Linked DNA regions of Homo sapiens: region 1 is linked to region 2. Evidence: promoter capture Hi-C in 16 types of primary human blood cells and fetal thymus (Javierre and others, 2016). All regions are on one chromosome and are shown on one strand. Each heading gives the region's core, a stretch centred on a gene start or on the middle of the fragment in contact. The rest is flanking DNA. Distances are from core to core; before and after follow the strand shown.

Evidence for each region. Contacts are between HindIII fragments. The CHiCAGO score rates a contact against its expected background, and 5 or more counts as called.
Region 1: a contact is called between a fragment that was not itself captured here and the fragment with the promoter of MMP16 in region 2, in 1 of 17 cell types (endothelial precursors). The highest score is 6.7, in endothelial precursors.

The regions. Positions count from the first base shown.
Region 1 is chr8:87,828,838-87,833,148 of GRCh38, reverse strand. No RefSeq gene overlaps it. Among named protein-coding and RNA genes, the nearest start is that of DCAF4L2, 43 kb to the left of the region's middle. The HindIII fragment of the contact is 4,120 bases long and covers 757-4,311 here.
Region 2 is chr8:88,325,588-88,329,880 of GRCh38, reverse strand. It overlaps MMP16 (matrix metallopeptidase 16), which reads left to right and starts at 2,398. Exons shown (of 10, transcript NM_005941.5): 1 at 2,398-2,806. The coding sequence starts at 2,675. It overlaps LOC105375630 (a long non-coding RNA gene), which reads right to left and starts at 2,037. Exons shown (of 8, transcript XR_001745653.3): 1 at 1,983-2,037; 2 at 784-952. The HindIII fragment of the contact is 7,293 bases long and covers 1-3,859 here.

The DNA.
Region 1 (4,311 bases), core at 1,567-4,066, 500 kb after region 2:
AATGATCAAGTCCTCTTTGGAAATGTTTCTTCAAACACTACAACTCAGTACATTTTAATCAATGATAAAAATGGTCAGTTTTGTGTCATGTGTTTTAAATAAACACAAGGAAAGCATTTGTGTCAGTTTTCAATTTACTGCCTCTGAGGTTCAAATTTTTGTTTTAATATATGCTCTGCAATAGTTCTCAAAAAATTTTAAACAGGACATGTTAAGCAGGCAAGGAAGACTTTATTCAAGAATACTGCAATAGGATACGGACCTTGAGCTGAACTCCGTAGATACAAAAACTGGGAGAGTTTAAGTGCTGGAATGAGCTGGTGGAAAAGTACTGGAGGAAAAGTTAGGGGGAAGCTTGTCAATGTGATTACGTCACACATATATGCTAATTTACACTTAGAGAAGTTAGGATCTTTCCTTCCCATAAGGACTGAGAATTATGGGTGCTGTGCTATTTCTCCTGATGAGTACATATCAAAGGAATGGTGCCCAGGTCCCTGAGAAAGACAGTCCTGTGTTGTGAAACTGGCAAAAGCCCAGAGAAGATTTACATCTCAAAGGAGCAGAGAAAGAATTTACAACTGCAAGTTTTCTAAAGGAAATGCTCTAAAAAGAGGGAAGTCAGATATCTAGAGTCCAGAAGAAATCTATTGAAAGTTTAGTGAAGCTGCGGGGAATGTTAAGGCCTTCTTGGTCATAATAGATTGCGTAATTCCTTTATGCATTTCTTCTTAAAACTAAACAGAGTGTTAAGCTTTCTTAGAAGAAGATGCTAGAGGGACATTGCATGAAAAAAGCCTTTGCTTATGGTGTCTTGATGCAATATGGTTGGCTGGTGGTGTGGGTGCGGGGACATCTAGTGGAGTTCCGCCATAGCCACACGGCCAGAATACACATTGACCTTGCAGCCCCAGAGTATCCTAGGGATCTCCCTTTTCAGCCCTTCCCATATGGACATCCTGTTCTCTAGGTTTCCAGCCAAGTTGGAGCCTCCACTCCACTGACACTTCAATCACCAGCTGTGACTCCTCCATCTTTCCTGCTTCCTGGAGTGTTGCTTGCTTTCTGTTCCATAACAACAGATCAGCTATAGTCTGGTGTATTAGTCTGTTCTCACATTGCTATAAAGAACTACCTGAAACTGGGTAATTTATACAGAAAAGAGGTTTAATTGATTCACAGTTCTGCAGGCTGTACAGGAAACATGGCTGAGGAGGCCTCAGGAAACTTACAATTATGGTGGAAGGCAAAGGGGAAGCAGGCACATCTTATGTGGCTGGAGAAGGTGGAAAGTGAGAAGGGGGAAGTGTTACACACTTTTAAACAACCAGATCTTGTGAGAACTCACTATCATGAGAACAGCAAGAGGGAAGTTCACCTTCACCTCCATGATCCAGTCACCTCCTACCAGACCTCTCCTTCAACATTGTGAATTAAAATTCAACAAGAGATTTAGGTGGGGACACAAATCCAAACCACATCATCTGGCAAACTAGCAAACTGCTGCTATCCAGTGGGTTCAACCTTATTCTGTACCCTAGTCTTATGGAGGGATCCTCTTTCCATGTTCATCCTTCCTTATGTACTCTCCCTCAGCCCTAGGATACCATACAGAGTTTCATTATATCTCCAGTTACTCTTTTTTTTTTTTTAAGATGGAATCTTGCTCTTGTCCCCCAGGCTGGAGTGCGATGGTGCGATCTCGGCTCACTACAACCTCTGCCTCCTGGGTTCAAGCAATTCTCCTGCCTCAGCCTCCCAAGTAGCTGGGATTACAGGCACCTGACACCATGCCTGACTAATGTTTGTATTTTTAGTAGAGATGGGGTTTCGCCATGTTGGCCAGGCTGGTCTCGAACTCCTGACCTCAGGTGATCCACCCGCCTTGGCTTCCCAAAGTGCTGGGATTACAGGCGTGAGCCACCACGCCTGGCTCCAGTTACTCTTTTATCACTTTAGTTATGATTCATATTAACCTTCCCCTAATTAAATCACTGAATGGTTCTAGAGCTGATTGGATCCAGACTACTATTATATTTTTTTACCATTTAATTTTCCCCCTAAACTATAGATTCTCACTGGGAGACTTGGGCATATGCCCAATTCTTTTAAAAGCATCATTGGATAAGGATTAAGAGGTGGATGTCCGTAATCTCCCTGGCTTTAAGGTATGACTTGGGAGGAGATGGCCAGAGCTTTCAACAAATTGTCAAAGATCTCAGTGATCAAGGAAAAAAATGGAGGATAATTTTTCTAGTTTAGAAAGTGAGTACCAAACCTGGTTGCATTTTAGAATTACTATGGAGCTTTTAAATATACCACTGCCTGGGCCCCACCCCAGACTAATTAAATCAAAAGTTCTAGGAGTGAGACACAGGCATTGGTATTTTTCAGCATGCCCCAGCTGATTCTGATGTGCAGTTGGAATTGAGAACCACTGCTCAAGGGGCTTGCTGCCATTTTGGTTTCTTGTGCTTTTCATGCCCTCTTCATCATTGCTTTATTATTCTTGCTTATAATAGAAGACTATTGGATGGAAAGTAGAGATCAAAAGTGCTCTTCTAGCAATTTAATACCCAAATTTTTAACTCATTTTCCACATAAAATGACCTTACATTAACAGTGACTCTTAGGAAGAGTAGCACGTGTGAGTTACGATCAAGAAATTAAATTTGCCCATTTCTTTTTGGTAGAGGTCAAAAAGCCCTACAGCAGGTAGATAGTGCACTCACAAGCATGACAGAAAAATTCTCAAGATAAAATGACCTTTCAAGTGGTAGAAAATGTTCTTTTAGAGAAAATTTCTTCAATACTGTTTAGAGGGCTCATTTAGAAAATGCCACCTAACCACTGAGTAAAGGCATGTTCTGAACAAAACGATTTTATATTTAGTTTGAACTTTATACAAGCAATTTGCTGTTCCTTATATAGCATGCAGTGACAAGAAAAGAGAGATTAACACCATTCTTTCTAAGCATTGAAGTTAAAAACTGACTAAATATGCCAAATCTAAGTGTCAATTTATTTTTTCAAATGGTGTCATGATGTTTCTTTATTTCTCCTGCAAAGAGATTAAAATGTGTTTTTATAGAAAACCTTAAACATGATGCAGCACAAATGTCATATAACGGAACAAATAAAATATATTGTTATATGTATCCTATATTCTTTCTTGGTTTTCTATAGATTTTCTTAACAAAGTCTTGTAAGTGATATGTGGATTGGCTGGGCTTCTGTATATTTGTATTGCTAATCTTAATAAGTAAAGAAGTCATGTTCTTGACTTCCAGCTAATTCCTTCATCTTGTCTGACAAAATCTTGGTTAAACAAATGGTTCTTTTGTTATGGATCTGAAGGTCAGCAGTATATTCGGCCAGACTAAACTAGGAAATTATTTCAAAATGTATGATTGATTGTGGAAGACCCTTTGCACCTGTACTCTGAACTTAATGCTGATATCTAAAATCTGAGAAGTTTGGCTGATGAGAAATGAATTGGGATCAAGAATAGAGGTTATGTTGACATAAGTGAAACCTCAACTCTATGAATTCTTCCTGATTTATGACAATTATTTTCCTTTGTGGACTATGGAGTCTATATCTTAAGAAGACATATTAATGGGATTTGAAGGCAAGTAATGGGGTAACAAAGTTAAAGGGAAAATTAGAAGAATGTAGCTTTTGATTGACTTTACTGATTAAACTAGACTTAACATACATAACAAAATAGACAAAAACATACTCTAAAATTTGGATTCTCTGATATATAGGAATGAGAAAAACTTAAAGGAGCTAAGATAAATTCTTTAAGAGTGTCTATGAAAACTCACAATAGGCTTTTTTTTTTTGTAAAAAAGAATAAATTTGCTCAGTTTTAAAGTGTATAAAATTGGTTAGTACAATTTTGCTGAAAATTAAATATGAGATATTGAGATTAGATATCAAGAGACTTTTTTGGCAAGATAGCTTATTAGTTGGTTTCCTAGGCTGCCATAACAAAATACCGCAAACTGGGGGGCTTAAAACAATAAAAAATTATTTACCCACAATTCTGGAGGTTAGAAATCCAAGATTAAAGTGTCAGCATGTTTGGTTCCCTCTCGGTGCTCTGAAGGAGAATGTTCCATGCCCTTCTCCAAGATATGAGTGGTTGCCAGCAATCCTTCGTATTCCTTTGCTCATAGATGTATCACTCCAATCTGTGCCTTGATCATCATATGGCATTCTTATGTGTCTCTGTGTCCAAATTTCTCTATTCTTTTAAGGATGCTGGTCACTGGATTGGGTCCTAACCTAAACTAACATGACTTC
Region 2 (4,293 bases), core at 1,149-3,648:
CTTTGGTAAATAATTTTTACCTCCTCCTCTTCAATAGTATCTCAAAGACTAGGAACTGAGTTTAAACATTTTTTTTGTATCATTTTCCCTCTCTAATTTTGCACTTTACTAGATATAATGCACACATAAAAATCATTCTTGATTTATTGACAAATACTTCACTACATTTCGTTACCTTATATTGGCACAGAACACCATATAAATTCTATATAATGACATTACTTTCATGTTGCCTTCTAGCTGTTTCTTTTATAAAAAATCATCTCAACCTATGGATTATAAAATTGCTAAGAGCAGGAATGAATTTCCATTTGGAAAGTCACTGGAGTATAGCAGGAAAATCACTGAACTGGGAGTCAGGAAACAAAAGTCTGAACTCTGCCACTTGTATGGTTTGCTGGAACGTTATATTTTATTGCTATCATTTACTTCATCTGTAAAATAAAAACAAAATCCTCAGAGATGGTGTGAGAATTAAATGAGATACTATGTCTGGAAACATTCTGAATATTCTAATGTACTATACAATATAAGACATTGCTTTTTATTACATCTTCAAAATTATTTTGTGGGCAGCACATGCTGGGCACAAGGCAGACTGTCAGGAAGGTCTCCCTGAGAACTTCTTGGGTCTTGGGTCAAGTTGGGTGGGCATTTCTTACATTTTTACAGCAACAGCTGCAAAGTCCCATTCCTCAGCCTTTTTTTCTTTTATTGGATAAAAGTTATTGCAGTCTAATACAATTTTTGGCAAACCATTCTCAGAATTTTCCATCTGCTTACCACATAGGACCTCTTGTAGTCCTGCTTCTTGCCTTTCCAACTCACCCATGAAATTTGCCTTGTCAATTCTCTCTTCCACCTCACCGAGGTAGCTGTCATACCTGGAACACTCTTTATTCTTAACCTCGCCTGCTTTTCTTTCCCGTGGGCTCCTCTTCCCCTCTGCTGGCTGCCAAGGAGAAGCACATTTACTGGCATTAGCCCCCAAACAGATGCTTGCCTCGCTCCCTTCCCCCTTCCTCTTTCAGCCAAACCATCACTTGCCAAGGGCTGGTGGTTGCTGCCCCCCCTGTCCACTGCCTCGCACTGCTACAGCTCCAGTCCTTTCTGGCAGCCTCCTCTGAAGTTCCCTGCCCGCGTTCGCCCGTGCTTCTTGCCAGCCGCCTCCCCCTCTTGCCTGCAGCTCTCCTAGCTCCCGCCAGCCTCTCCCCCGCTCGGTCTGCGAGCAGCCTCTTCCTCCCGCCCTTGCCAGCTGCTTTACTCGCCTTTCCTCAGGCTGCTTCTTCTCCTTCTTTCCCCAACCCTTCCCCTGGCTCCCGCAGCCGGTTTCTTTCCAGCGCCCCCATCCCTCTCATCGGATGTTTTGTTAACACCCAGGACCATCTCTCCCGGGTCCCACTGTGCGCGTGTGTCCACCGTTCACTTGGAAAGTGAGCGTTTTCATCCCGCTTCTGTATTTGTCTAGTCCGCCACCAAAACCCTGTGCCTACTCCTCAAGCCTGGAAGGCGGAATGTAGCTATGGTAGAGGGGATTCAGGAAGACACCAGGCCACAGGCTCGGGACCCCAACAAAGTTTTGGACGTTCGGGATTTGCTATCTCAGTCTTCCCAAACTTGGTCAGCCCCGGCCACCGACCCGAGCCACCCAGGGGCGCTCAGTGACCAGGCGCTCCTCTGATTCCCAGCGCCCCTATTCTTCCAGGGCCGCTTCCTCAGGAATGCCGACCGCTCTCCAGGACCAGGGTTGGGCCGCTCCCCAGGCCCCACTAGGGTCCGCAGCCTGAGCCCCACCCAGCTCATGGCTGGAGAGGGGCGCACTCGTTTTTAGATGCGAGGCGGCAGGGTGGGCGGGAAGAAAGAATGGAGCCGCCCAAGTTCCTGGGTGCCTGCCTCGGGGATGCGGGATGGGAGATACTGTCGAAGAGCTGTGCTCAAACCAGGGCCCTTGTCGCGGGCTGGATACCTCCGGTGCGCCCTACCGTAGTGGGGAATCCTTTATGAGCCGTCTCCTTTAAGAAGCGCGCGTGCGTGTGTGTCGGGCTGTGTGTATGCGCGCGTGTGTGTGTGTGTGTCGCGGTGTGTCTCTGTGTGTGTGTGTGTGTGTGTGTGTGTGCGCGCGCGCGCGCGCGCCAAGGGCCCCGAGAGCCAGGCAGACCCCGGGAAGGAGGAGTTATGTAGATTACGGATGAACATTCTGGAGGGGAGCGAGGAGAGGAGGGAAGGAGAAGCAGAGGCGAGAGAGTGAGGAGCGGCGGAGGCCCTTCCCGCAGGAGCTGGGGGCGGCGGCGGCGGCGGAGGAGGAGGAGGAGTAGGCAGTGCAGGAGGAGGACGCACGGGCTGGAGGCGGCGGCGGCGGCGGCGGCTGCTGCTGCTGCGGCTGCGACTAGGCTCTTTGAGCCGGAACCGCCGGTGAACTTAGGCGCCACGTTCCCGGTGACTGACCCCGGAGGATGGTGAACAGGAACTACTGCTGACCCTGTCTTCGCCGCTGCCTCTCGGGGGCTGCCGAGCGCGGGGCCCCTGTCTCCTCCCCTTGCCCGGCTGTGGGTGAACCTGCAGGCTCCTTACCCACCCGGAGGACTTTTTTTTGAAAGGAAACGAGGGAGGGAGGGAGAGGGAGAGAGGGAGAAAACGAAGGGGAGCTCGTCCATCCATTGAAGCACAGTTCACTATGATCTTACTCACATTCAGCACTGGAAGACGGTTGGATTTCGTGCATCATTCGGGGGTGTTTTTCTTGCAAACCTTGCTTTGGATTTTATGTGCTACAGTCTGCGGAACGGAGCAGTATTTCAATGTGGAGGTAAGAGTGCGAGGGCTTTCTTCCTCCCCCCGCTGCCTGGGCTGCTCCCTGAAACATTTCCTTCACTCCTGGGATCCTTGTAGCTCAGAGCAGCCTGGGTCCCAGCACGTTGTTTCCCTTCCAGCTGTGGAGACCCTGGTTCAGTTTAAGGGTGTTTTAGGTGACGGATGCGTGTGAGACCCAGAATCCGTTATCCCCGGCAGCACAAAGCACGATGCTGCGCGCTCAAAGACACAATTGTAGCCGGTCCATGCTTTTCACCCAGGGAAGAGAAGTCCTACATATAGCAACCGTGTAGCTAAATAAGGCAGCTTGAGTTTATGATGGATAAACAGCTCGGGGAAGACAGAATTAATTCCCTGGCATCATGTGCTGCCTAGGTATTGTTCCTGAAATCTTTCTCCCAGTGTTTGGTGCCTAACAAAGGAGGTTAAAAATCAAAGAATCTAGAGGAGAGCGTGGGAACACTAGATGTGTTTAATAACATTACTTTGTGATAAAACACTTGAGAATCTTTTTTTTTTTCATTTAGACATAACTTAATACACTGTAACTAGATCTGGCTACACAGAGGACATGAAATCCATCTCTTTTTAAGTGTCTTCTTTCCCCCTCCCCCGCCAATTGAAAATAAACGTGGCCCAATGTAATAGTTTTGAGGTGTGTTTTTAATTTGATTTCACACTCTCGTGGCAAAACGGGGAGGTTTTAGACTGTCATTTGCTTTACTTTGATAGCTTTGGGAACAGACGGCACAAAGCAAAAGGGAACTTAAGGATAGGGACTTGTCAGACCTCTGCCAAAGTACTCTTCCTGTCATCAAGTCAGCACTGAAGCCAGTAATGTGCAATAAATCAATGAAAGCGTGTATACACCTGGGCTGTAACACAACTTTATCACATATACGGTGGGATACAAAGCCAGTAAGAGGGTCTTAGTAACATTTACTTCTTTTGATTAGATCTGATGTCCTCTGAACTCTCAAACGAATTATGAATAATTTTTTAAGGAATAATGTGATTTTTTTTCTTATATTGTTGATATTATGAAGCTTATTGTCATTTTGCTGGGAGTGTGTGTTTACACAATAGCAAGACCTGTTGCACAGTATTTGAACATGCTTCATGTAACCAATTGATACACAGAGTGTGCATAATAAATGCCATGTGTAAAGGCATATTCTGAATATAACTGTGTTTATAGAAACTGTTCTTAGGACTTCATGTAATAAGTCATGGTTAGTACAAAAAAAGTATTTGAAAAAGTAAGAGCTATTATCAAGAGTTAAAGACCTTCACAGATATTAAGTATGAATAAATTACACAAAAAAAACCCAATTTGAAAACTAAAAAGGTTTAACCCTTTGAAAAATACAACTTTATTTTTCTAGATAAAAAGAGAAAGGGGCTTGAAAGTCCAGACTTTTTTTATTGCAAATTTGAACTTTTGGAATTACGTGCCACAGATGGATTTTTGTACCTAACATT